5 separate regions of the Homo sapiens genome follow, and all the other regions are linked to region 1. The links are contacts of gene promoters, found by promoter capture Hi-C in blood cells and fetal thymus (Javierre and others, 2016). All regions are on one chromosome and are shown on one strand. Each heading gives the region's core, a stretch centred on a gene start or on the middle of the fragment in contact. The rest is flanking DNA. Distances are from core to core; before and after follow the strand shown. Region 1 holds the start of LINC02482 (long intergenic non-protein coding RNA 2482). Region 2 has its middle 4.0 kb from the start of WFS1. Region 3 overlaps TBC1D14 (TBC1 domain family member 14). Region 4 overlaps TBC1D14 (TBC1 domain family member 14). Region 5 overlaps TBC1D14 (TBC1 domain family member 14).

Region 1 (5,074 bases), core at 2,575-5,074:
CCTACTTTCTTCCAATCATGGCCTCAAGCAAGAAGTCTAGCATCTTGTGAGCCACATCAGGTCCTAATATGGCTTTTATTGGTCTAGAAGCTTATGCACTTTTTGAAAAGACAAGTTATTGTCCACTTAGACCCAACATTCAGTGATGAGACAGGGACAGGATAAGGCCCATTGGTAAGGGAAGAATGAAGGGGTGAAATAGCAGTCACATAGCTATTTTGAAACTCGGTGGAGTAAACATTGCCAGGTCCTCTACTTTAAAGCTAGGGAATGTAAGGCTTTGGTTCTGCAACCTGGAAGTGGCTCAGCAGCACAGGAGTTGGCAAACATTTTCTGTAAAGATCTAAACAGTAAATATGTTAGGCTTTGTGGGCCACATACAGTCTCTATCACATATTCCTATTTCTCCTTTTCTTTTTTAAAGATATGAAAGTCTTTCTTAGTTCAGGAGCTGCAGTTTGCCATTGGTCCCCACACACTGGCCTGCACTGACACATCCTTCTTTTTCCATCACACTTCTGAAAAGGGCATTTTAAAATGCGCCAGTTTGGGCTACTGAGCCTGCTTTCTGCCGGTGGAAAGATTGGGAGTCTAGAAGTCCTTTGACACTTTGAACTGTCGCTTGGATAAGCTAGAGCATTTTTGCTAATATGTTCACCTCGAAACTTTTGTGGGTTTCCATGTATTTTATTCCATTCCACTCATACCAAGAGACAATTCTTTTTGAGGTGTGTTTAGCTCTCTAGACTTAATTACTGCTGTGTTTGTCACATTGGCTGCAGTGAGATCGTGACATTAGGATTCCTGGGAGCCTGCGCTGGGCAGAATTTAAGATGGCTCCTCCATGATCTTCACTCTCTGGGTGAAAACTGTCGGTCAGCCCATGCCCAGGATTGTTGATCAGTGCTGAAGGTCCTGAGGCTGTTTTTAGCATAGTCTAAAACTTAAGCAAAGCAATAATTATAATTGAGCAAGCAAAATTGTTCTTTAACATGGAATCGATGCTGTTACACAACCACATAAGCACTATTTTAGTCCGTTCACGCTGCTCTAACAAAATACCAGAAACTGGGTGTCTTCTAAACAACAGAAATGTATTTTCTGAGTTCTGAAGGCTGAGCAGTACAAGATCACGGTGCCAGCAGGTTTGGTGCCTGGTGAGGGCCCACTTCTGGTTCATAGAAGCCCATCTTTTTGCTATAACCTCCCACAGCAGAAGGGGTAAGGCGGCCCTGTGGAGTTGTTTTATGAGGGTGCTAATCTCATTCATGAAAGCTGAGCCTTCATGACCACATCACCTCCCAAAGACCCCACCTCCTAATATCATCACATTGGGGATTGCTTTGCAACATATGAATTTTGGGGGGACTCACATATTTGGACCATGGCAAGCCCCTTAAAAGCAGAGTTTTCTCCAGCTGGGAGCAGAAGGGGATGACAGAGAGGCTGGAAGGATAAGAAGGATCCGACATGCTCTTACTGGCTTTGAAGATGGAGAGGGCCACGTTTAAGGACCGGAGAGTGACCTGTAGGAGCTGAGAGTGACCTCTGGCCATCAAGCATGGAGGGTCCCCTTAACTTTCTGCTAGAGGTACACAGTGAATAAGCCTAGACACAATGACATGCAGTGGGTGCTTAATAAAGATCTCTTGGGAAATGAGCATTAAAGCAACATTTACTGGGCTCCTGCTGTATGCCAAGCCCATTTCAAGCTGAGGAAACAGATGACTAAACTGACTAAGTACCTGCCCCTAGGGCCTGTTTTCTCGCAGAGGCACTTATATAGTCCAGTGAAGAAAGAAATCTTCCAGAATGATTCCTAAAGGCATATTCAGAGCCTGGCAGGGCTGAGGAAACAGTGGTGAATCAGACCCACCTTGGCCTTGGGTGCCCACAGTGGGTAAAGCCAGACTCCAACTTACAGCCAAAGCCCCAGGCAGAGTGAAGCTTATACCCTTAGGAAAAAAGTAGGGGGAGGCTGGGTCACAGCACTCAGCATCAGCACCGAGGCCGCAGCTCTGTGTTCCAGGAGCATCTGCCCGAGGCAAGAGGGAGCGGAGGCCCTGGCTGGGGGCAAATCCCGACGCTGTGAGCACCTGGCTTCTCGGAGCCTGGAATATTCTAACGGGACCACTGAATTCGGTTGTTTATTATTTTTATTTATTTATTTTGAGACAGGGTCTCGCCCTGTCACTGGGCTGGGGTGCAGTGGCGCAATCAGGCGTTCAGAGCTCACCTCGGTCTCGACCTGCTGGGCTCAAGCAATCTTCCCGGCTCAGCCTCTCAAGTAGCTGGGACTATCGGCACGCGCCACCACGCCCAGCTAATTTCTTGTGTTTTTTTTGGTAGGGTTTTTTCCCTTGTTGCCCAGGCTGGTATGGAACTCCTGAGCTCAAGCGATCCTCTCACCTCAGCCTCCCAAAGTGCTGGGATTATAGGCGTGAGCCACACGCCCGGCCTGGGTGTTTATGATTTAGAATGTTGGTGAGAGGTGACAGTGTGCTGGCAGTCCTCACAGCCCTCGCTCACTCTCGGTGCCTCCTCTGCCTGGGCTCCCACTTTGGCAGCACTTGAGGAGCCCTTCAGCCCACTGCTGCACTGTGGAGGCCCCTTTCTGGGCTGGCCAAGGCCAGAGCCGGCTCTCTCAGCTTGCAGGGAGGTGTGGAGGGAGAGGCGCGAGCGGGCACCGGGGCTGCACACGGCGCTTGCGGGCCAGCTGGAGTTCAGGGTGGGCGTGGGCTTGGTGGGCCCCGCACTCGGAGCAGCCGGCTGGCCCTGCCAGCCCCCGGCAATGAGGGGCTTAGCACCCGGGCCAGCGGCTGCGGAGGGTGTACTGGGTCCCTCAGCAGTGCCAGCCCACCGGCGCTGTGCTCGATTTCTCACCGGGCCTTAGCTGCCTTTCCGAGGGGCAGGGCTCGGGACCTGCAGCCCGCCATGCCTGAGCCTCCCACCCCCTCCATGGGCTCCTGTGCTGCCCGAGCCTCCTCGACGAGCACCACCCCCTGCTCCACGGCGCCCAGTCCCATCACCACCCAAGGGCTGAGGAGTGTGGGCGCACGGTGCCGTTCTCGCAGGCAGCTCCACCTGCAGCCCTGGTGTGGGATCCACTTGGTGAAGCCAGCTGGGCTCCTGAGTCTGGTGGGGATGTGGAGAACCTTTATGTCTAGCTCAGGGATTGTAAATACACCAATCAGCACCGTGTGTCTAGCTCAGGGTTTGTGAATATACCAATCGACTCTGCTGGGGCCTTGGAGAACCTTTGTGTCTAGCTCAGGGATTGTAAACGCACCAATCAGCACCCTGTCAAAACAGACCACTCGGCTCTACCAATCAGCAGGATGTGGGTGGGGCCAGATAAGACAATAAAAGCAGGCTGCCGGAGCCAGCAGTGGCAACCGGCTCAGGTCCCCTTCTATTGTGGAAGCTTTGTTCTTTCTCTCTTTGCAATAAATCCTGCTGCTGCTCACTCTTTGGGTCCACACTGCCTTTATGAGCCGTAACAGGTCTGCAGTTTCACTCCTGAGCCGGCGAGACCACGAACCCACCAGAAGGAAAAAACTCCGAACACATCCGAACATCAGAAGGAACAAACTCCAGACGCGCCACTTTAAGAGCTGTAACACTCACCGCGAGGGTCCGTGGCTTCATTCTTGAAGTCAGTGAGACCAAGAACCCACCAATTCCGGACACATTGGGAACTTAGAGCAGTGCTTGGGACATGGTTATCAGCGTCAGATATTTCCTTAAACTAGCGTGAAGTCGACTTTAACCTTCCAGCAGTGTGAGTGAGGGCCCTGACCCTAGAATCAACGCCCAAAGAGCTGTGGCGCTACAGCGGGCGGGGACATGGGGTGCGCATGCGTGCGGGGGGGTACGCGTGCGTGCAAGTGCGCGTGCGCGCGCAGGACCGCTGAGGCGGGAGCCCCGAATGCGGTTCTCGCTTGCTGCGTGGCGGTAAAGGACCGCAGGTGTCGTAAAAGGGCCGCAGTGGCAGCGTCCTGGCCGACGGCTAGTAGCCCATTTTGGATACCGTCCTCGCTGCGGAAAGTTGGGGCAACCTGTTGCTAGTCTGGTCGTTGGTGACAGCGAGGCTTCCGCGCTCGCTGCTGGTGAGCAGCCCCGGCGTGCCCCGCGGGCTGGAAGAGGCGGCGGCGTGATGCGGCCCGTGGACGCGGACGAGGCGCGGGAGCCCCGCGAGGAGCCGGGCAGCCCGCTGAGCCCCGCGCCCCGCGCCGGCCGCGAGAACCTGGCCTCCCTGGAGCGCGAGCGCGCCCGGGCGCACTGGCGGGCCCGCAGGAAGCTGCTGGAGATCCAGAGCCTGCTCGACGCCATCAAGAGTGAGGTGGAGGCAGAGGAGCGGGGCGCCCGGGCCCCAGCACCCCGCCCGCGTGCGGAGGCTGAGGAGCGGGTGGCTCGGCTGTGCGCCGAAGCAGAGAGGAAGGCTGCGGAGGCGGCGCGGATGGGCAGGCGGATCGTGGAGCTGCACCAGCGGATCGCCGGCTGCGAGTGCTGCTGAGCCGGCGAGGCCGCGCGGGTCTGGAGCGGAGCGCGGCGGGGAGTGTCCCGCGTGGAAGGCGCTGGGTAGGCAGGGAGGGGAGCGCAGAGCCGTGCCACGCTCTCCGCGGAGTTGGTTTCATTCTTTTTTCATAGGTAATTAGAGAAAATAATTTGATATGTTGTTGTAAAGAGTCATGACCACTGGAAGTATTTTCAGGACGTAGACCTGGTGGGTCACTACGTGGGGGGAGAGAGGTGTGAAGCGGAGGTACATGCTGGAAACGTGTGAATGTTGTTACGAGATTGGAGCGTTTGCGATGACCTTCCTGCAGGTGGAAGCATTGTGCACAGGTGGTTGGGTTTGTTTGACTCCCGGATATGAGAATATCAAGCTCAAAATTTATGTTGTGATGATGAATTTCTCCCACTTGTACTTTAGGTGGCCAACTGACGAACTGTGTTCACCTGATAAGGAGTCGTGGCTGCTTGGACAGGCTCAAACCAAGAGAGCCTTTCGTTTTGTCTCCCCTGTTTTTCTGCCTGCGTTTTCTCCACATTAGCCACTCAATTTCCAGTA
Region 2 (5,074 bases), core at 1,086-3,585, 410 kb before region 1:
AATGAGGCCCCTGCTGCTGCCGTGTCCTGTGTCCAGTCCTGGTGACACAGCCCTGGGACCTGAGACCTGTGCCCAGGCCCCATGCTGGCTGCTGTCATGGTCTCCCTGCATCCAGGGCAGGCTGGGCCCATTTCGAAGGTGAGGGCTGGGGGAGGTGGGGGATCTCAGCTGGCACTGCTCAGTGATGTAGGGGCATGACTGGGACACAGGCAGGCCTGGGAACAGCGTCTCTCCCCACACGGGCATTTTCCTTCTTCTGCCTCAAAGTTGCTTTTGCATCCTGGCTTTTTTTTTTTTTTAATTCCCCAAATGAAACTTCCCAGTGCACTTGGTGACTCGTCTGTGGGCTGTGAAGTGGCGTTCGCTCTCTGCCTTCAGAGATGAGCACATCACCACTCAGACCCATGGGAGGGCTCAGAACTACCCGGCGACAATGCAGTGTGTGTGTGTGGCAGGTGGGTGTGTGCACGGGGGTGTGTGTGGAGGTGCTGGCAGGCGTAGGCCTCTGATGTGGCACCAGCCCTGGTGACACAGAGCCGTGTGACCAGCACCGAGCCCCCCACGACACCCCCACCAGCCACAACTCCAGCCACTTGGGCTGTGATTCCAAGGAGACTGTAGAGTGGGCAGGGAACTCAGGTTTATAAAGGGAACACTGGGAAGGAGGGAGGAGTGGTGGGCCCAGGGTGGGATATGAGCAGGGAAGTGGGAGAGGACGAAGGAGGGGGGTGGGAGCCCAGAGGCTCTACGGCCCAGCAGCTGCAGGGTGTGTGATCCTGGGAAGCTTCCATACCCTCAGACCCTCGGACAGTGAGGGAGGCTGCCCCGTGTGTCACATTGTGTTAGGAAGATCTGTCGGGGTATAGCAGCAAAGAGAGCTTCCTACCTTAGATGTGGTCAAGGCCTGGTGGGATGGCCTCAGGAAAGAGGCAGTGGATGGGGCACATGGCCTGAGTGAGCTCCAGACCTTGCTAAATTGCAAAGGCACCCATGCGGTTCCTCTGCTGCACCCCTATCCAGGACTCCCCATAGAATGCAGACTTCTGGTCCAGCTGGCCTGGGCAGGACAAGCTCTCCAGGTGGCGCTATGTGCATAGCCTGAGCTAAGCACCTCCAGCTTGCAGCATGGCTTCTCTAGCTTGCTTTATTTATTTATTTAGAAACAGGGTCTCACTATGTCATCCAGGGTGGTCTTGAACTCCTGGGCTCAAGCAATCCTCCTGCCCAAGCCTCCCGAGTACCTGGGACTACAGGCATATGCCACCACTGGCTCCAACCTTAATGTGCATGCAAATCCCAAGGGCATCTTATTAAAATGCAAATTCTGACTGAGGAGGTCCATGGTTGGCGCGGGATTCTGCATTCGTAACAGGCGTCCAGGTGACTGAGGAATGCTGGATGCTGATGTTGCTGGTCTGGTGGACCCATCACACTATGAACCACACTGCTTTATACTCATGGGTCTCAAATGTTCCTATGTCTCACAAACCCCCCAGGAACCTGTTAAAATGCAGATTCCTGGGCCTGGCTCCCAGGGATGCTGACAAGGCTAGTCCTAGGGTTTCGCTGTGCTAGAAGTCCAATGTGTGGCCGACATGCCCAAACATGTTCTGTTCTTTTCTATTCTTATCTCTTTTACTTTTTCTTTCCTTATCTCTTTTACTTTTTCTTTTCTTTTCTCTTCTCTTCTCTTCTCTTCTTTTGAGACAGGGTCTCACTCTGATGCCCAGGCTGGAGTGCAGTGGTGCAATCTTGGCTCACTGCAGCCTCAAACTCCCCAGTTCAAGCAATCCTCCCATTTCAGCTTCCTGAGTAGCTGGGACTATGGGCACATGCCACCACGTCTGGCTGATTTTTAAATTTTTTTGTGGAGATGGGTTTTTGCCATGTTGCCTAGGCTGGTCTTGAACTTCTGGGCCCAAGCAATCCCCCTGGCTTGGCCTCCCAAAGTGCTGGGATGACAGGTGTGCGCTACCATGCCCAACCAGCCGCACATGTTGTTTTTTTGTTGTTGTTTTTTGTGTGTGATGGAGTTTCGCTCTTGTTGCCCAGGCTAGAGTGCAATGGTGTGATCTTGGCTCACCGCAACCTCAGCTTCCCGAGTAGCTGGGATTACGGGCATGCGCCATCAAGCCCGGCTAATTTTGTATTTTTAGTAGAGACGGGGTTTCACCATGTTGGTCAGGCTGGTCTCAAACTCCCGACCTCAGGTGATCCACCCCCCACCTCCAGGCCTCCCAAAGTGCTGGGATCACAGGCGTGAGCCACCATGCCTGGCCCATGTTGTTCTTATCTCATTAACCCAGTGGGCTAAAAACTCATTGCCACACTCAGTAGCTTAAACCACAGAAATGGATTCTGCCACAGTTATGAAGGCCGGAAGTCTGAAATCAGTGTCACTGGGCAAAAATCAAGGAGAATCTGTTCCCTGCTCTTCCAGATTCCAGGGACTGCCTGCATTCCTTGACTTGTGGCCACATAATTCCTATCTTCAATGCCAGCGTCTTGGAATCTCTCTCTGCTCTATGTCCACATCAACTTCTCCGTGTGTGGTCAAATCTCTGTCTGCCTCTCTCCTGCAAGGAGATAAGCCAGGCTAATGGCCCCTTCTCAAAATCCTTAATCACATCTGCAAAAACCCTTTTCTAAATAAGGTACCATTCACAGGCTCCAGGAAGTGATCTCTTTGGGGGCCTTGTACACCAATAGCCTGTAAACCGCCACACTCTGCTGTCTTTCAAATGACAACTCACCAAGCCTCTGTCCTCATTTTCTTTGAATACTTGGCATGTAGTCCAATGCCTGGAACAGGCAGGATGTCACTAAATGTTTATATTTTTTAATTTTTATTTATTTTATTATTATTCTTATTATTTTTGAGACAGAGTTTTACTCTGTCGCCCAGGCTGGAGTGCAGTGGCATGATCTCTGCTCACTGCAACCTCCAGTTCCTGGGATCAAGCGATTCTCCTGCCTCAGCCTCCTGTGTAGCTGGGATTACAGGCATGTGCCATGACGCCCGGCTAATTTTTTTGTATTTTTAGTAGAGATGGGGTTTCTCCATGTTGGCCAGGCTGGTCTCGAACTGCTGACCTCAAGTGATCCACCCACCTCGGCCTCCCAAAGGGCTAGGATTACAGGTGTGAGCCACCACGCCTGGCCAAAAGTCACTAAATGTTTGTTGAGTAAATGGAAGTAGGTTTTAAATAGGTGTAGGGAAGGAAGTGGGCCAAGAACTTGAATGCAGAGTCTGAAAATCATGGGCAGACATCAAAGGACTGAATTGTGGGGGGTATATTTGGATGTCAGGTTAAAGAGTTTGGACACTGTCCTATGGGCAAGAAAGAGCTTATATGAAGTCCTTGCATAGGTGATTCATCCATCCATCCATCCATTCATTCATTCAATACTCAGCAGCAACATGCAGAGCTCAGCTCTTGGGGGAATGAGGACAGGTGTCCTAGAAAAGATAGCATTGAACAGCTGGCTCTTTCTCCCACCAGAGTTGTGTTTTAATAAGTTCTAGTATTTCTAGCAGTTACTGCTTTAAGTGTGTGGCTACTAGATTTTCTGGCTCATTCAGATTCATGACAATGAAATCTTTGTGGATTGTGCCTGGCACCCTTACATAATACCACTCTTCCCGTGAATGCTTTCCATCATGCGTTCTTCCTTATCAATAGTAATTTGCCATTTTTCAAATGTCTGCTGTGATCTTCTACTTCTCAATATTTTTGGTGTGTTTCTTGTAAATAGCGCTTAACTGGACTTTAGTTTTTGCCCCAATCTTACAGACTTTGGATGGGAAATTCAGCCCATTCACCGTGTTACGAAGGCGGGTAGCCATGGCTTTATTTATTTTATCTCATCTTATGTTTACTATTATTAAGCTTATTGTTCTTGCTATTATTTACTTTCCCCCTTAATTTTGCTTCCTTACTCTCCCTCCACCCCTCCCCCAACTTCTACCTAGTAATTCAGGAGTTCTACTCTGCTTCTTTCCCGTGAGTTGCTACTTTCCAATTCCTGAGAGTCATAATTCAACCAATCTTTCCCTGATAATGTATTAAAAGTAAATGGTAATGAAGCCCCCTCCCCACCACCAATAAGGCTTTCCTTCCCCAGCTGAGAGTCATAATTAAACCAATCTTTCCCTGCTAATGTATTAAAAGTAAATGGTAATGAAGCACCCCTCCCAACCACCAATAAGGCTTTCCTTCCCCACTCACCAAATCAGATCCTTTTACTTCCTCCTTCTCCCCTCAACCAAATGTGATCTTAAAATATTCTGACTTCTCTGTGATAAGATTCTATTTTTTTTTTTAGTTCCAGGCTAATACAACTTTCTCTTGAAGCATGTAGCTTATGTTTTAAGAATCCTTATGTGGCACTGCTAGTACAAAATCACAGGCACATGTGGATTATCCATACTGTATATTTTGCAAGGGTCATTGCTTAACACCACTTCCTGTTCTGAGCGTTTGCTCTATCTTGAAATCTCTACTGTGATTGAACTGTCTCGGTGACGGGGGAACTCTGAATATCTTCCTCTGAAAGGGGACATCACTGAGGTCCTTTCTCTGTCTTGCCACAGTGGATATTTTCTCTCTTTTGTCCACATAGATGAATCCTGTAGTAGCCATGGTAAGGATCCTTGATCCTATCATCAGAGTCCCTGGACATTGCTCCAAAGTCCCCTAGGAACCACTTCAACTTTTCTCCCCTTAGATGTGACCTGTTCTTTCTGGAACTCTGCAAGACCGTCTCTTTATCCTTGGCATCTGGGATTTCCAGGGACACGTTCTCCTGGCACTTTGCTCACCTCTGTTTCCCCTCCAGCTCTTCCTGGAGTACCTGTCCTTTGTGCAATACACCTCCTGGAACTGTCTTTCCAGTCTCTGCTTTTTGTCCTGATGATTTTCATGTGCTTTTCCTCTACATCATGAAGCATTTACTCCACATTATCTTCCAGTTTGCTCATTTGTCCTCACCTCCACTCTTCTCTTTCTGAATTTGCCTGTTGCTTTTTCAGTCTCTTAGCTCCGTGGAGTATGTTCAGTGTTGCTGTGTTCTG
Region 3 (5,074 bases), core at 1,080-3,579, 320 kb after region 1:
GCTGTTTTGTAGTGTTCCTCCAGTTCATAAGTAGCATTGATGACCTTTCTTGTCTTTCTACCAGGAGTACTTTCTTTTTTCTTTCTTTCTTTCTTTCTTTTTTTTTTTTTTTTTTTTTTTGAGACAGGGTCTTGTCCTGTTGCCCTGGTGCGGTTATGGCTTACTGCAACCTTGAACTCCTGGGCTCAAGTGATCCTTGTCTCAGCCTCTTGAGTAGTTGGGACCACAGGCACAGCACCTCTGTGCCAGGCTTAGGAATACTTCTTCATTGTTTGAGAATCATGATCCTTTCTTTTCGCTCTTAAAACAAATGTGCATTGAAGCAGGCTTTTCCCCCGCTTTTTAAACCAACAAACGTTAAACCTAATTCAGGAGCCTCGTGCCCTTCTTGTCTTTAGCACTGTGCAGATCACACGTGGAATGTAGACCCTGCCCCTGGATGCGTCTGAGGGGCTCCCCATACCTCATAGTCTCTCCTCTGGCTCTCCTCTCTCTCCTGGGGCTTGTCCCAGCACCTCTGGGTAACGTGTTGAGACCTTCAAATCTAGAGCAAAACAACTTTGACTCTGCACCATTCCCGGTTCAAATCCTGGTGCTAGCCTGCTTGTGGGTGTCTCTTGGCCACTGCTTCTGCTGTCAGAGTGCCTCTTCCTCTTGGCCTCTAGCCCACGTCTTACCTGTCTGTCCACTCAGCTGGCCCCTTTGTGAAAGCTTCCCATGTCCCCCTGGCCTCAGGCATCCTGCCCTTCCTCCCACAGTGTGTGGCTCGCCCCTCCTGGCACATCTCACGGTCTCACCTGTGTGGGAGCCTCTGCCTGCATCGTATTGCCCCTGTCGAGTGAGCCCTGCTGGGTTGGAGATTGAGGATCTCCTAAACTGCCAGGCCCGCGTGGTCCCTTCACAAATTAGTTTCCTCTTTTCCACATGGCCCCTTCCCTCTTGCCCTGCATGCTGAGTCTCATGCAGAGCCCTCTGCATGAGACTGGGGCTCTGCTCAGGCACCCTGCCTCCCTGCCTTTTTTCTTCAACCTTAGCTGGGTCATCAGACCACACCCCACAAGTTGGCTGCTAGTGAGGTGCTGCTGCCATGTTGGTATGGTCTCGTCTTTCCCAGCGTGATTCCTTATAAGCTGCCCAGAGCAGGGACTTCGAACAACTGTGCTTCTAAACTGACAGCCTGCAAACTTTTTTGAAATTATCCCCAGTTAGACACTTTAAATTGAGACTCATTGTACTGACATAACTAAGTGTAAAGCTGAAGCAAATTGTATTTATGTACTGTGTTTTATTGTTTTGTTTTTTTTAAAAATGCTGTTGTGACCAATCAAACTGATCTGCTGCTAGAACTTTGAAGAACCTTGTTCTAAATTCCTTCTGGGGGCTGGGTGCAGTGGCTCACGCCTGTAATCCCAGCACTTTGGAGGCTGAGGTGGGTGGATCACTTGAGATCAGGAGTTCCAGACCAGCCTGGCCAACATGGCAAAACCCTGTCTCTACTAAAAATACAAAAATTAGCTGGGCCTGGTGGCACGCGCTTGTAATCCCAGCTACTTGGGAGGCTGAGGCAGGAGAATCGCTTGAACCCGGGAGGCAGAGGTTGCAGTGAGCCAAGGTTGCACCACTGCACTTCAGCCTGGGTGACAGAACGAGACTCCTCAAAAATAAATAAATAAATTCCCTTTAGGGTTGTCCAGGGTGGCAGCTGTCACTTAAGTGGGCAGTTTATTTTACCTGTTAGTCTGCAGGGATTTTGACGAGCACAGCAAGACGGGCATCGATGCTTGGTTTAAACCAAGAGACTTCAAAATTTGGTCCCATGCAGAGATGGAACTTGGGAATGATGAGTTGGACTGAAGTGGACCGCACCAGTACTTGCCTGGCACACAGAAAGGGCTTGGCACTTGAGGGAGTGAGTGCCCAGCCATTTTACATATCTTATCTCTTGACCGCCACAGTGGTCTGTACAGTTGCTACTGTTTTATAGCTGAGAACAGACTGAGAGACAAGACGACTCACCCAAGCCAGGACCTAGAACTCTGGTTTTACTTCCAGAGCCTTATCCCTTGCTAGCCCGACCTTAGCGCTGATAATCCACAACTGAGTGTTCTTTCTCCAGTGCTGTTTCTTCCCTCCGGGATCCTGGGAGTGAACAGTCCTCTTTCTTCTTTCTAAAGTTGGTTTGTCTGGCCTGGACAGTGAGCTTACTGTTGTCACCTCCAGGTTGCCCTGGGAGAACCGGGTCTAGAGCAGGACCTGTCACCATTTCCAACACCATTTCTCTTCTGAAAGGGTGCCTAAGGTTTTGGAAAGGGCTTTGCCTGGGATTTCAAGTATGAGCAGGCTAGGCCACCTGTGTTACTTTATTATTTTAATCATGCCTTGGTCTGTGATTAAAACAAGCATTTGACCCTGCGTCTCTGCTGATCTGTGCACTTAGTTCAGTATTTGAGGTTTCGGTCACGGTTGTGAAAACTACTGAGACTGAATCTGAATGATGGATTACTTCTGATGCATGTCTGCCAGAGGCTTGCATGAATTCTGTGATGAGGAGTGTGGCTGCGGAACCCCAGCGCGTGGCCTGTGACCCAGCTTCCCCACTTGCCCGCCGGGTAAGTCACGGACACCTCTGGGTCCCCGTGTGTGTTTGGTGCACAGGGAGTGCTGGAGAAACAGCAGCCCTTGTTGGTCTGTGGCACTTGCTTTTTCTCCCCCTCAGACCTGAAACCACTGGAAGAGGCAGGAAACCATGCCTGCCTCAGGTAGCCTGCATCCCTGCTTTTTTTTCTTGAACCTTCGTTGGGCCATCTGACCACAGCCACAGCTTTGCGCTGGTGAGGTACAGCGTGTCCTTGTGCAGCTGTCTTGTTGGCGTGGTCTGGGATGGGGCAGCCCCTTCGGGGGGCTGGTGTGGAGGAAATGGAGTTAACCCAGCATGGTCTAGGGTGGAGCAGCCCCTTCGGGGGGCTGGTGTGGAGGAGATGGAGTTAACCCAGTGTGCACGCGTAAAGCACTCAGAGGTGCTGGGCTTGTTAGCGTCAGCCGCCGCCACTGTTTGTTGCTGTTGGTAATAGTAAGAAGCTCTGACTGAAGCGATCTGATGTTTCTGGTCATGACTCAAGGCTTTTACTTCCTTTTACTCCTACTTTTTGTATCTGTGCTGTTGGCAACTTGGCAGGGCTCCTAGATTGTTGTTTGGCACTAGAGCATGGTTTTCTGCCTTTCCCGTGGTTTCAGGTCTGAGGGGAGAGAAAGCTAGTGGCGCAGACCAACAAGGGCTGCCCTTCTCCAGCACTCCCTGTGCACCAGAGGCTGTGACATCACCTCATTCCTTCCAGCAGCCCACTCAGGGTGAGGCAGGCGGGGTTTCCCATTTTGCAGATGTGGAAAGAAGGCTTAGGGATTTGAAGTGAGTACCTTGCCCGAGGTCACAGCTGGTGGTTGGTGGATCTGAATTTGCTCCCAGAGCTATCTGGCTGCAGAGGCCACACCTAAGCCGTGTAGGACTCGGGCTTTCCCCTCTAAAACTGCACACCTGTGGGTTTGAGTGTATTCACAGATGATATTGGGCCGGCTCAGGGCGGCAGGCCCAGCCTTGCTGGCTGTATGCTTCAGGCAAGTCACTTCACTTTGAGCCTCAGTTACCCTGTCTTTAAAATGGGTAACACTTGCCAAGCAGATTGCTGTGAAGACAAAGTGAGTCCACATGCACAGAGCACACAAAAGCCGATGGAAATGGGCATCCACATCCTGCCATGGCTGATTTTGGGCCCAGCATTCTGGCCTTGGCATACAGTTCACCAGACCAGGCTCAGCAGATAAGTAGCACCTCATGGGGTATGTGTTACTAATTCTTGTTAAAATGCAGCATGCCTCAGAATCTTTCTCAACACACAGCTTTTGTTTGATTTCCTATGAAATTGGAGACTTTGACATTCAGGTGCTAGACTTGAAGCTTCATGAGGGCTAGTGCCGTCTTAGGTCACGGCTGTGTACCCCATACAGTGTAGATGTTCAGATGCTTGAATCCAGCAAGGAATGAGTCCGTGTTTTCAGTTTTTGGTAAGTGGAAGTAATTTTAGAATTGTAATGAAACCATGTTAAGCCACAGTAAACAGTGTTAAGACATGTGACCATATACATCCAGGTGTACAGAAACTGCCCCACCCAACTGCTTCTTGGTGCACGTCCTTCTCATAGCCTGTGTATTTTGAGGAAATAATCTATTTCTTTATACTTTTTAGAGGCCTTTCTGGCTAAGAGAATAATTGCTTGCCGCATAATTTCACCAGTAACACGCCTCTTGACAGCTAGTTTCCCTGAAATTCATTTAGCAATTTCTCACCACCTCATGACAAACATGAAATCTTAGGTTAACACTACCTTCTTTGTCCTATCTTCTCAATGAGATTATCTTCCCTTCAGGGGCATTCCTGAGAGCCTTGTCTGTAATATTTCCTTAATTATCTATAATCATCTTAAATGATTGTGTTTTTTGATTTTGCACAGAGCGAAGTACCTACACATTATTTCAGAAGCACCAACCTGTTTGGCTCTCCTGAGTTCTTCCAGCTGGGCGTTTGGAATGTGGGTCACCGGGTGTGAATGAGCTCTTGTGGTTGCAGTGCACGGGTGAATCGGTGACCCAGTGATGTGGAGGCTGCTCTTAGATTTCCAGGGCATGGCAAAACTATTTACATAACAATTTGCAGTGGCAGCTTCCCAGTGGCCGTGATAATAATCAGTTAAAATTTACAGTGTCCAGAAGAGAGAAAACATGCCTGTTACCCAGGAGACAGTAGACCTGAGGCAGCGTTTGAGGGCCCTCCTCAAAGGGGCTGCTTTGATAATGAGATCCTTTGTTATTTCCCCACCAACGAGGGAAGCGTGCAGTCATATCATAAAGCAATGGTCTCAGCTTTGGAACTCTAAGACCCCTTTAGGCTGGGCACAGTGGCTCACGCCTGTAATGTCAGCACTTTGGGAGGCTGAAGCGGGTGGATCACCTGAGGTCAGGAGTTCAAGACCAGCCTGGCCAACATGGTGAAACCCCATCTCTACTAAAAATAAAAAAATT
Region 4 (5,074 bases), core at 1,118-3,617, 290 kb after region 1:
TTCTTTACCAGATTTACCAACTGTGTGCATTTGGCTCCATTTGTTCTACTTCTCTTTACGTGTGATAGTATATATGCATATTTTTTCCTGTGCCATTAGAAGAGTAAGTTTGAGATACCATGTCTGTTTACCCTTAAATATATCAGCATATTTCCTAAGAACAAGGGCATTCCCTTATGTAACCACAGAACAGTTGTCAAAATGAGGTCACTTAGCATTAATCCAATGTTGTTGTCAAATCCACAGTCTGTAACCATACTTCATCAATTGTCCCAATAATCTTTTTTTTTTTTGGCGATAGAGTCTCACTCTGTCGCCCCCAGGCTGGAGTGCAATGGTGTGATCTTGGCTCACTACAACCTCCGCCTCCTGGGTTCAAGCGATTCTCCTGCCTCAGCCTCCCGAGTAGCTGGGATTACAGGCATGAGCCACTGCACCTGGCCCTCTTTCATGTCCTTTTAATCTGAAACAGTTCCTCAGCCTTTCTTTGTTTTCATGACATTGACATTTTGAGAGCTTATAGGTCCATTATTGTATAAATTGTCTCAGTCTGGGTGTGTCTGCTTCTCTTCATGATTGGATTCAGGTCATGCATTCTTGGGCATCAGCGCCATTGACTTGGTGTGTTGTTCCCCATGCATCAGATCAGATGTCCTGTGCCATCTGTCCTGGCTTTTTAAAAAATAGAGACAAGTGTCTTGCTCTGTCACTCAGACTGGTGGTGTAATCATAGCTCACTGTAACCTTGAACTCCTGGGTTCCAATGATATCGCCTTAGCCTCCCCAGTAGCTAGGGCTGCTGATACATGCCACCGTACCTGGCTAATTTAAAAAGATTATGTGTAGAGACAGAGTCTCACTACCTTGCTCAGGTGAGTCTCAAACTCTTGGCCTCCTAAAGTGCTGAGATTATAGGTGTGAGCCACCACTCCTCGCTGGTGATGTTAGCTTTGATCACTTGGCTGAGGTGTGTCCCTCAGGTTTCTCCGGCATAAGATTAACTATTTTGCTTCATGTAATTAATAAGGAATTTGTAGGAGACACTTTCAAACTGTGTAAAAATCCATTCCTCATTGAGCTTTCCCCACTGGTGTAAGCATCTGTTGATCATTTCCTAGCTCCATTGGTCTCTCCTTACTAGGTGACTTCCCAAGAGCTTTCCTCCTCCTCCATTAATTTCTATGTTTGTTTATTTGTACCTATATGGGCTAGTGGATTTCTCTTTTATTCAGTGAGTTATAATCCATTGTTCTCATTATTTGGATGAGTAAATTGTTCCAGATTGAGTCAGTGGGAGCCTATTCAGGCTGGCTACTGTTTCTTTTAGACACGTCCCAGTATTTCTTTGAGAACTTTCTTTCTAGTCCAGCAAGATGCTGCAGGCTCATCTTGTACTTTCTAGTAAGTCCTGGAAGCCATTTGTTTTTAATGAATGCATTGATACAGTGCATTCCAAAATTTTATTTTGTGTTAATACTACTAGTTGGGATTTATTTGTGTTATTTGGAACTTTTGTTTACATGTTCTTTGGAGAGAAGACCTTGTGATCATCTCATGAGTAACTTTCTTTTTATGATATGTGAATACTCATTATAAATAGGTAATACAGATTTACCTTGTACATAATTTAAGCTAGGGGTTACGTACTAAAGCAGCTGTTACTCTTTAACACTAATTGTGTACTTGAAATTTTAATTTGTATAACAACCTTGTAGAACATGGGGCAGTGTGCCCTTGTTAAATGTAGGAAACTGAGGCTCAGAGGTTAATATACTGGTCCAGTGTCATGTGGCTAATGAATGGTTGAGCCAGAGTTTCAATTCAGTTTAGTCTGACTTCAAAGCTTACTTTTTCTGATACCCTTTGTTATGACATAACACATTTTCTTACTCTAAATTATAGAATTAGTTGAATAACAAAAAGGTTTTTTGTTTGTGTGTTTGATTTTGAGACGGAGTCTTGCTCTGTCACCCAGGCTGGAGTGCAGTGGCACGATCTCAGCTCACTGCAAGCTCCGCCTCCCAGGTTCATGTCATTCTCCTGCCTCAGCCTCCCGAGTAGCTGGGACTACAGGTGCCTGCCACCATGCTGGGCTAATTTTTTGTATTTTTAGTAGAGACGGGGTTTCACCATGTTAACCAGGATGGTCTCGATCTCCTGACCTCGTGATCTGCCCACCTCGGCCTCCCAAAGTGCTGGGATTACAGGCGTGAGCCACTGCACCTGGCCAACAAAAAGTTTATTTCTGGCTTAAGGTCTTTCTCCTGCCGCGTAATTCTGTGTCTGTATGAAAATCAAGTCTGAAGAATTAAAGTACGTGGTTCTCAGAGGAAAGCTGACTTGTTTTTATTAGAGTGGTTCTGCTGTTCTGGTGTTTCTTGAATTACCCAGAAATGCCCTAACCTTGTTATTTTCTTCCTATAGGAACTTGCTTGCTAGAAAACAAAGTGCAAGGCTTGACAAACACAATGACTTGGGATGGAAGTTATTTGGGAAAGCGCCACTCCGAGAGAATGCCCAGAAGGATTCAAAGAGAATACAGAAGGTACACAAGATACAAAATCACAGAAATAGGCTGTTGGATGTGTTTAGCATATATTCATGAACCTTGCAAAAATGACCATATTGAGTCTGAAACTGGAAATCGCTTTGTATTATCTGCATACCACGTTCCTCAGATTTAAGTCTGTATTCACAATGTGGATGAATTTAACCTTCATTTCTTACAGCTTGTAACATGCACATAGGAAAGTCCATTTGACAGAGGTCGGCTTTAGATGTTTATAATGGTATTTAGACAGAGCTGGGCTCTAGATGTTTATAACTGTATTTAATCAGTTTTAGTAATAGTTGCAAATGTGTTTATCATCAAATTTGTATTGTTTGATAGTAAAGCTTTCTCCCGTGGGTTTCTTGGAGCTCACATCCTTCCTGTGCTACTCTGGGACAGGAAGGCGAGGGCCGACATTCCCCGGCTCTGCTGGGATGCCTCTCCCTTGCTCACCCTGAGGCTGCCTACTTTTGGGGTGGGGATGGGGTTCATGCCAGGCCTGCATGTCCTCACCACTGGGCTGCCTTGCTCCTTACGGTGGGAGAGATGCCACTGCTGGAGGCTTGCTTGTGCACGGACACAGCAAGTCCACGGCCCAGGTAGCTGTGACCGTCGCTGCCTGCAGCTTCTCTTAGGCTGTGGGTCTCAGCCGGCTCGGCATCCTAAGAGTCTGCTGTCTGCCCCAAGTGTCGCGACATTGCCCCCAGCACCCTCGCTCCTCCAGCTTCAGTTTTATATTCATTGACATTTGCTCAGTAGACACTCTTGAGGCTCCACTAAGCGCCAGGCCTCATGCTTGGCACCGGAGTTGGAAGGGACACAGTACCCGTGCCCAACAGTGTCCCCATGGAAATGATTCCAGGGCAGGCGCAGGAGGAGTGGGGTGGCACAGACAACTGAGGTTAAAGGTGTGACAGGAAATTAATTGCTATGGGGATCATGTACTGAGTGATTACTGTGTGCTAGTTCTAACGGACTCAGCACTCGTGTTTCTAGTTCCTTTAAAACTCGCAACAACCTTGTGAAGAAGATAGTATTATTAAACTCAGTTTACCAAAGAAGCACTGAGACACAGAGGCTGTGTGACTTGATGTGCAGGGTCACATTGCTAGTAAGTAGCACAGCTGGAAACCGGTCCCAGACAGTGGGATGCCAGGACCCCTTTTGCAGGCAGGGCCAGGCAGGTAGTGGGGACAGCATGAGCTAAGGACAATGTGCAGCTGAGCCCAGGAGGCTGACCGCCGGGAGGAGGCTGACCGCCGAGAGGAGGCTGACTGCCGGGAGGAGGCTGGCCATGGGGCCTGTGCGCTGCACCCGGTAGCCTGCCTCCAACCCCAAGGCTTTGCAGAGCCTCTGAGTGTTTTACGTAGGTAAGGAGTGATGGCATCACCCTGGCAAGAATATGGCTCTTGGACCAGCCCAGGCAAGAGAAAGTGGGGTCTGGCCCAGTGCTGCGTCGTGGGGTTACAGAGGATGCCCCTTTAAGTGCTAAATGGATGGGATTGACTTGCTGGGTGACCTGTTAGGTGTAGGGAGTGGTTTGTTGGGGGTGAGGCGGGAGCGCAGTGTTGAGGCTTCTGGGCAACAAAGTGGGTTTCCACATGCCACATTCTTCACGCGTCGGCAGGTTAAATTTGGTTTGAGTGTTGTCTGCCATTCTCTGCTGTAATCATCTGGACCCAGGGGACTCACTAAGTAAATCAGTGTTGGAATTCATTTTTGTTGATTGTTACATTTTGAATTTGAATCACTTATTGTGTAGGCTTATTAAAATAGCATACAATTAAAGTATGATGAGTTTGTATGCAAAGCTTAGCTATAAATTTCTTAGGAAATTAAATAACCAAGCTGCTATAAAGTTTTTAAAGAAATCACTTTAAAAAAGCAACAATTACATTAAAAAGAAATAGATCTTCCCATGGCACTTAATATCACTTACATAATGTTTGAACTTGTTTGTCTTTTTAAGACCCTGTTTTTTTTTCTTTTTTTTGAGACGGAGTCTCACTCTGTCGCCCAGGCTGGAGTGCAGTGGTGCGATCTTGGCTCGCTGCACGCTCCGCCTCCCGGATTCATGTCATTCTCCTGCCTCAGCCTCCCCAGTAGCTGGGACTACAGGTGCCCACCACCGCGCCTGGCTAACTTTTTGTATTTTTAGTAGAGACGGGGTTTCAACATGTTAGCCAGGATGGTCTCAATCTCCTGACCTTGTGATCCACCTGCCTCGGCCTCCCAAAGTGCTGGGATTACAGGCATGAGCCACCATGCCCGGCCCGACCCTGTTTTTTTTTTGAGGGGAGCATGGATTATGTTCTTGACCTTAGAGGATTTTTTTTTTTCTGTGAACTGAAATGACTAGGCCAGTTCATTATGCGGTAACACAATATTGCCAAGAGGAGGACCATCTGCTTCCGTCGTCAATAATAAAGAATGTAACTTACCTGCGCGAGTCATTCAATCCTGCCCGGGACCTGCTTGCTTGTCTCTGGCCCTCTCATCGCTCATCTCCCAACCCAAGGGACT
Region 5 (5,074 bases), core at 1,908-4,407, 270 kb after region 1:
TTTTGTCCTTTTTAACACCTACCCCTGATTTTTCCTTCTTTTTTTATTTCCTTGCAGACTTTGAATTTTAAACAGATAAAAATGGATGCTGTTTCCATCGTTTGGTGTCCTGCTTTTCTACGTAGAGGAAACATTTCTCAGCACAATTAAAACGTGTTCGTATGCTTATTAATGTCTTTGTAGGATTTCATCCTGTGAATCATTTGCTTGTCCAGCAATAAGGAAATGGCTTTTTGCGTCTGCGTTTTGATGATGGAATTCCCCATGGGCTTCAGAGTGCGGTGCCTGCCTTTCAGATGATTTCCTTAGGACCGAGTTCCTGGGACTTGCTGCTTCATGACCAGCGTCTCGGGCCCCTGTCAGCTCTGGCCTGTCCTCCCTGGGGTGATGGCCCTGCCGGGAGCCGTCTGTCCTTGGCAGATGGAGTTCACTGTTAGTGAGAGCCCAGCCTCTGTTTTACAAACGAGCATGCTCCAAGCAGTGGCTGATGGGCGGTTGGAATTCACCATGGCTCTGGCCTCTGGTTCCTGTAAATTGAGGCGTAGGAAAATTAGTCCTCCCCGGGTCCTCTGGTTTACAGAATGCGGGGATGTCCAGGTTTCTCCTGTCCTCCTCATCCCTGCACTGGTTCCACGGGACTGGCTGGACACAGCGTCACTGGTTCCCAGCACAGCTGACACCCCTTCCAGGAACCTTCTCACTATCCCCGGGGCAGAGGTGGCCTTCCGGGCATGCGTGCTCCTCTCCCGTCTCCTCTGCAGCTTCCTTTTAGTCCAGTGGTGTTTCAGGTGTCTTGCTCTTACTGGAGCTCCTTAAGGACAGGGCCTAGATCTCAGTCATCCCCAATCCCCAGCTAACCCCAGCTCATGTTCCTGATTGGCCCTGGGACACTAGCAGAACGTGACTTGGTTCTGTTCACTAGTGCCATATAGAGTCAGGTTCCTGGAGCTGGTGTGAGAGTGGGAGGTTTGAATCTTCATGGGCAGGGGCTACATTGTGTCAGGCTCTGAGCTTGGCATTTTCCATGTGAAAGGAGACAAGGGCTCCAGGAGAAATGGCCTGTATTTGCTGGGGTGTAGGGGCGGGCCACATGCCACTGAGCTTTAGAAGCCTGCTGGGTTAGGAATCAGCACACAGCCTGGATCAGTGAAAATACAGGAACAAGAAGATAATAGGAGAGTTTGTGCTGTAAGGCAGGTGTTTACAGTTTGATTTTTCTTGAGTGAGTAGAAATGTTGGCGTAGCTTGAAAAAAAATCTGAAATAATTCACTGTCCACGGAAAGGGCTGGAAAGGAGTTATCTTAAATTCACATAGATTAAAGAAAGCATAGCTGGTCGTGGTGGCTCACGCCTGTAATCCCAGCACTTTGGGAGGCTGAGGTGGGCGGATCACCTGAGGTTTGGAGTTCGAGACCAGCCTGACCAACATGGAGAAACCCCGTCTCTACTAAAAATGCAAAATTAGCCGAGCGTGGTGGCAACGCGCCTGTAATCCCAGCTACTCAGGAGGCTGAGGCAGGAGAATCGCTTGAACCCGGGAGGCGGAGGTTGCGGTGAGCCGAGATCGCGCCATTGCGCTCCAGCCTGGGCAACTAGAGCAAAACTGCGTCTCAAAAAAAAAAAAAAAAAAAAAAAAAAAAAAAAAAGATGAAAGAAAGCATTAAAGAAATGAGATAGCATGGGAGGGGAAAGACTTATTAAGGAGCGAAGTTCTCAGTCCTAGCTGCACAGTAGGATTACCTGGCAAACTTAACAAAGAAAAATTAATATATGCATTCTCCCCTCAGAGATTGATTTTCATTGGTTTGGGGTGAAACCTGCGCCTCAGGATGCTTGAAAACTCCCCGGGTGACTCTAGCACGCAGAGGGTTCAGAGCCACCAGTAGAAAGAATGGACTTTCAATTCAGACTTCAGCTCAAATATAGGCACTTTATCGCACGATCTGAGGCAAGGTTCTGTCTCTGAATTTTCTCTTCTTCAAGACAAGCCCCGTGAGGATGGGTACCTACATTTCCGGTCATCAGGAACTATATTCCCAGTACATGGCATAGCACCTAGAACATAGTTGGTTCTCAATATGTATTTGTTGAATGAAAAAAATGACATGGATGAATAAGGTTAGGATTAAATGAGAGGAGATGCTTGGGCCTATATAATTAACAGACTGCTCTTAGTGTTATTTATTTATTTTACTTGTATTATTATTATTTTTGAGACAGAGTCTTGCTCTGTCACCCAGGCTGGAGTGCAATGGTGCAATCTTGGCTCACTGTAACCTCTGCTTCCCGGGTTCAAGCGATTCTCCTGAGTAGCTGGGATTACAGGTGCGTGCCACCAGGCCCAGCTAATTTTTGTATTATTTTTGGTAGAGACGGGGTATCATCATGTTGGTCATGCTGGTCTCGAACTCCTAACCTTGTGATCCACCTGCCTCGGCCTTCCAAAGTGCTGGGATTACAGGCGTGAACCACCACATCCGGCCCCTTAGTGTTATTTATTAATAAGCAGAGTTAACAGACACAAACTCTGATGGTAACTGATTGATGATATCTCCATTCTACAGATGGTAAAACTGAGGCTAGAGAGGTTCATTTCTTGCCTAACATCAGGCAGCTTGTTACGAAGCTGGGATTTGAGCTCCTGACCTGCCTGAGTCTAAATCCCACGTATATCCCCTCCCACCTTAAGTCAGATCTTACTCCTTAAGATTTCTAATATGGAAGGAACATAGTAATGTCATTCCTTCCCTGAAATGCAATCCCTAGACCCCTCATAATTTGTGCTACTTACAAACTTATTGTTAAGTCCTCCTCTCCTCTTTTCCTTACTATTAGGTGGAGATTAAGAATAAATTAGTATTTTTCTTAGTACTGTTTTGTACTAAGTTACATGGGCATTTTTGCTCTGCCATCTCTCTCTCTCCTTGTAAAAATCTAAGTTAGGCCGGCGCAGTGGCTCACGCCTGTAATCCCAGCACTTTGGGAGGCCGAGGCGGGCGGATCACTTGAGTTCAGGAGTTCAAGACCAGCCTGGCCAACGTGGTGAGACCCCTGTCGCTACTAAAAATAAAAAAATTAGGGCAGGCGCGGTGGCTCAAGCCTGTAATCCCAGCACTTTGGGAGGCCGAGGCAGGCAGATCACGAGGTCAGGAGATCGAGACCATCCTGACTACCACGGTGAAACCCCGTCTCCACTAAAAATACAAAAAAATTAGCCGGCTGTGGTGGCGGGTGCCTGTAGTCCCAGCTACTTGGGAGGCTAAGGCAGGAGAGTGGCGTGAACCCGGGAGGTGGAGCTTGCAGTGAGCCGAGATCGTGCCACTGCACTCCAGCCTGGGCAACAGAGCAAGACCCTGTCTCAAAAAAAAAAAAAAATTAGCTGCCCCTGGTGGCGGGTGCCTGTAATCCCACCTACTCAGGAGGCTGAGGCAGGAGAATCCCTTGAACCCGGGAGGCGGAGGTTGTAGTGAGCTGAGATTGCGCCACGGCACTCCCGCCTGGGCAGCAGAGTGAGATTCCGTCTCAAAAAAAAAAAAAAAAAATCTAAGCTGATGTTAGAGAGTGGATCCCTGTTTACTTTTCCCCTCCTGTATTTAAATATTAGAGAGTGTTTGAAGGAGATTTCAAGGAGAGTATGACTTCAGGGAGAACACTAGATCTTGCTTTGGACTCAGTGACTTCATCAGTGGAGACGTTCGTGGCAGAGTCATTTCAGGGTTAGTTAATGAATACCTTTTAATGCAGTTCTATCTGGCAGGTTTTATGTCAGACCTTGGGGATACAAAGACCAAGTAGGAAGCCCGCCTGCCCTACAAATGCAGGGGGAGGTGAGGTGCAAATAACAAAAATGCAATACTCCCAGCTCTGTGTCAGAGATAAATGTGGACGTGCTTTGGGAGCACAGAGGAGGGACTGCGTGGGGAGGGGGCACATGAGCCCAGGAAGGCTGCACGGGAGAGTGGTTTGAGCTGAGTTAGCATGTATTGAAATTTTATGTAAAGGAGAGCAAAGCCTGCAGAACTTAAGTACATGAAGTGAACACACTCGTGTGTCTGCCACCTCAGTCAGTACAGAGACTATGACTAGAACCCCCAGAAGTCTCCTTTGGGTTCCTTCCCTGTCAGCATTTCGCTCCCCATGGGTAACCACTGTTCTGACTCTGTCACCACACATGAGCTCTGCCTTCTTTAGGTAAATGGACTCATCCATTATGCCCTCTCATGTCTGGCTTTCTTTGCTCAACACTGGCAAACTGACCCTGGGAGGTTTTGCATAGCAGTAGCATCCATTTATTGTTGTCTAGTTTTCGGCTGTATGGGTATCCCACTCTTTGTTCTCCCATGTGTGGAGGTTTGATTTGTTCAGGGTCCAATGGTTACAAATAATGCCCACCATGGTGTTCTCACGGATGTCACTGGCGTGTGCGTGCCTGGGGGGTGGGACAGGTGGGTCTCCCGTGGGTCCCACTCGCGGTGTGTGGTGATGCCGGCTGCTCTTGATCCTTCCGAAAGGTGATATTGTCAGTTTATTTTTCTTTTTGTCATTCCGGTGACAAGGTAGGGGTACTTGGTTTTTTTTTTTTTTTTGAGACAGAGTCTGTCACCCAGGCTGGAGTGCAGTAGTGAGATCTCAGCTCACTGCAACCTCCGCCTCCCAGATTCAAGCGATTCTTCTGCCTCAGCGTCCCAAGTAGCTGGGATTACAGGCGTGAGCCACCACGCCTGGCTAATTTTTGTATTTTTAGTAGAGATGGGGTTTCACCATGTTGGCCATCTCCTGGCCGGGCGTGGTGGCTTACATCTGTAATCCCTGCACTTTGGGAGGCCGAGGCGGGTGGATCACCTGGCCAACATGGTGAAACCCTGTCTCTAGTAAAAATACAAAAAATTAGCCAGGCGTGGTGGCGCACACCTGTAATCCAAGCTATTTGGGAGGCTGAGGCAGGAAAATCACTTGAACCTGGGAGGTGGTGGTTGCAGTGAGCTGAGATCTTGGCACTGCACTCCAGCCAGGGCAACAGAGTGAGAATCTGTCTCAAAAAAAAAGGCTGGGCGCAGCGGCTCACGCCTGTAA

What was found. The method cuts DNA at HindIII sites, captures the fragments that hold promoters and counts their contacts. A CHiCAGO score of 5 or more calls a contact.
Region 2: a fragment that was not itself captured here is called in contact with the fragment with the promoter of LINC02482 in region 1 in 2 of 17 cell types (total B cells and naive CD4 T cells); the score reaches 8.7 in total B cells.
Region 3: a fragment that was not itself captured here is called in contact with the fragment with the promoter of LINC02482 in region 1 in 13 of 17 cell types (neutrophils, naive CD4 T cells, naive CD8 T cells and 10 more); the score reaches 18.4 in neutrophils.
Region 4: a contact is called between a fragment that was not itself captured here and the fragment with the promoter of LINC02482 in region 1, in 12 of 17 cell types (total CD8 T cells, naive CD4 T cells, naive CD8 T cells and 9 more). The highest score is 12.3, in total CD8 T cells.
Region 5: a fragment that was not itself captured here is called in contact with the fragment with the promoter of LINC02482 in region 1 in 14 of 17 cell types (total CD8 T cells, activated CD4 T cells, non-activated CD4 T cells and 11 more); the score reaches 15.4 in total CD8 T cells.

What each region holds. Positions count from the first base shown.
Region 1 is chr4:6,670,057-6,675,130 of GRCh38, forward strand. It overlaps LINC02482 (long intergenic non-protein coding RNA 2482), which reads right to left and starts at 3,825. Exons shown (of 2, transcript NR_134665.1): 1 at 3,628-3,825; 2 at 672-937. It overlaps MRFAP1L2 (Morf4 family associated protein 1 like 2), which reads left to right and starts at 4,019. Exons shown (of 1, transcript NM_138699.3): 1 at 4,019-5,074. The coding sequence starts at 4,157. The coding sequence ends at 4,516. RefSeq lists an enhancer at 3,013-3,621 and a silencer at 4,094-4,323. The HindIII fragment of the contact is 2,330 bases long and covers 3,423-5,074 here.
Region 2 is chr4:6,263,285-6,268,358 of GRCh38, forward strand. No RefSeq gene overlaps it. Among named protein-coding and RNA genes, the nearest start is that of WFS1, 4.0 kb to the right of the region's middle. RefSeq lists enhancers at 1-360, 1,149-2,348. The HindIII fragment of the contact is 3,106 bases long and covers 783-3,888 here.
Region 3 is chr4:6,988,789-6,993,862 of GRCh38, forward strand. All of the region lies in intron 3 of TBC1D14 (TBC1 domain family member 14), which reads left to right. Among named protein-coding and RNA genes, the nearest start is that of CFAP184, 52 kb to the right of the region's middle. The HindIII fragment of the contact is 3,241 bases long and covers 710-3,950 here.
Region 4 is chr4:6,964,880-6,969,953 of GRCh38, forward strand. TBC1D14 (TBC1 domain family member 14) reads left to right here. Exons shown (of 14, transcript NM_020773.3): 3 at 2,425-2,545. Among named protein-coding and RNA genes, the nearest start is that of TBC1D14, 58 kb to the left of the region's middle. The HindIII fragment of the contact is 1,052 bases long and covers 1,842-2,893 here.
Region 5 is chr4:6,944,137-6,949,210 of GRCh38, forward strand. The region is part of intron 2 of TBC1D14 (TBC1 domain family member 14); the gene reads left to right. Among named protein-coding and RNA genes, the nearest start is that of TBC1D14, 37 kb to the left of the region's middle. RefSeq lists enhancers at 1-433, 434-1,259. The HindIII fragment of the contact is 6,413 bases long and covers 1-5,074 here.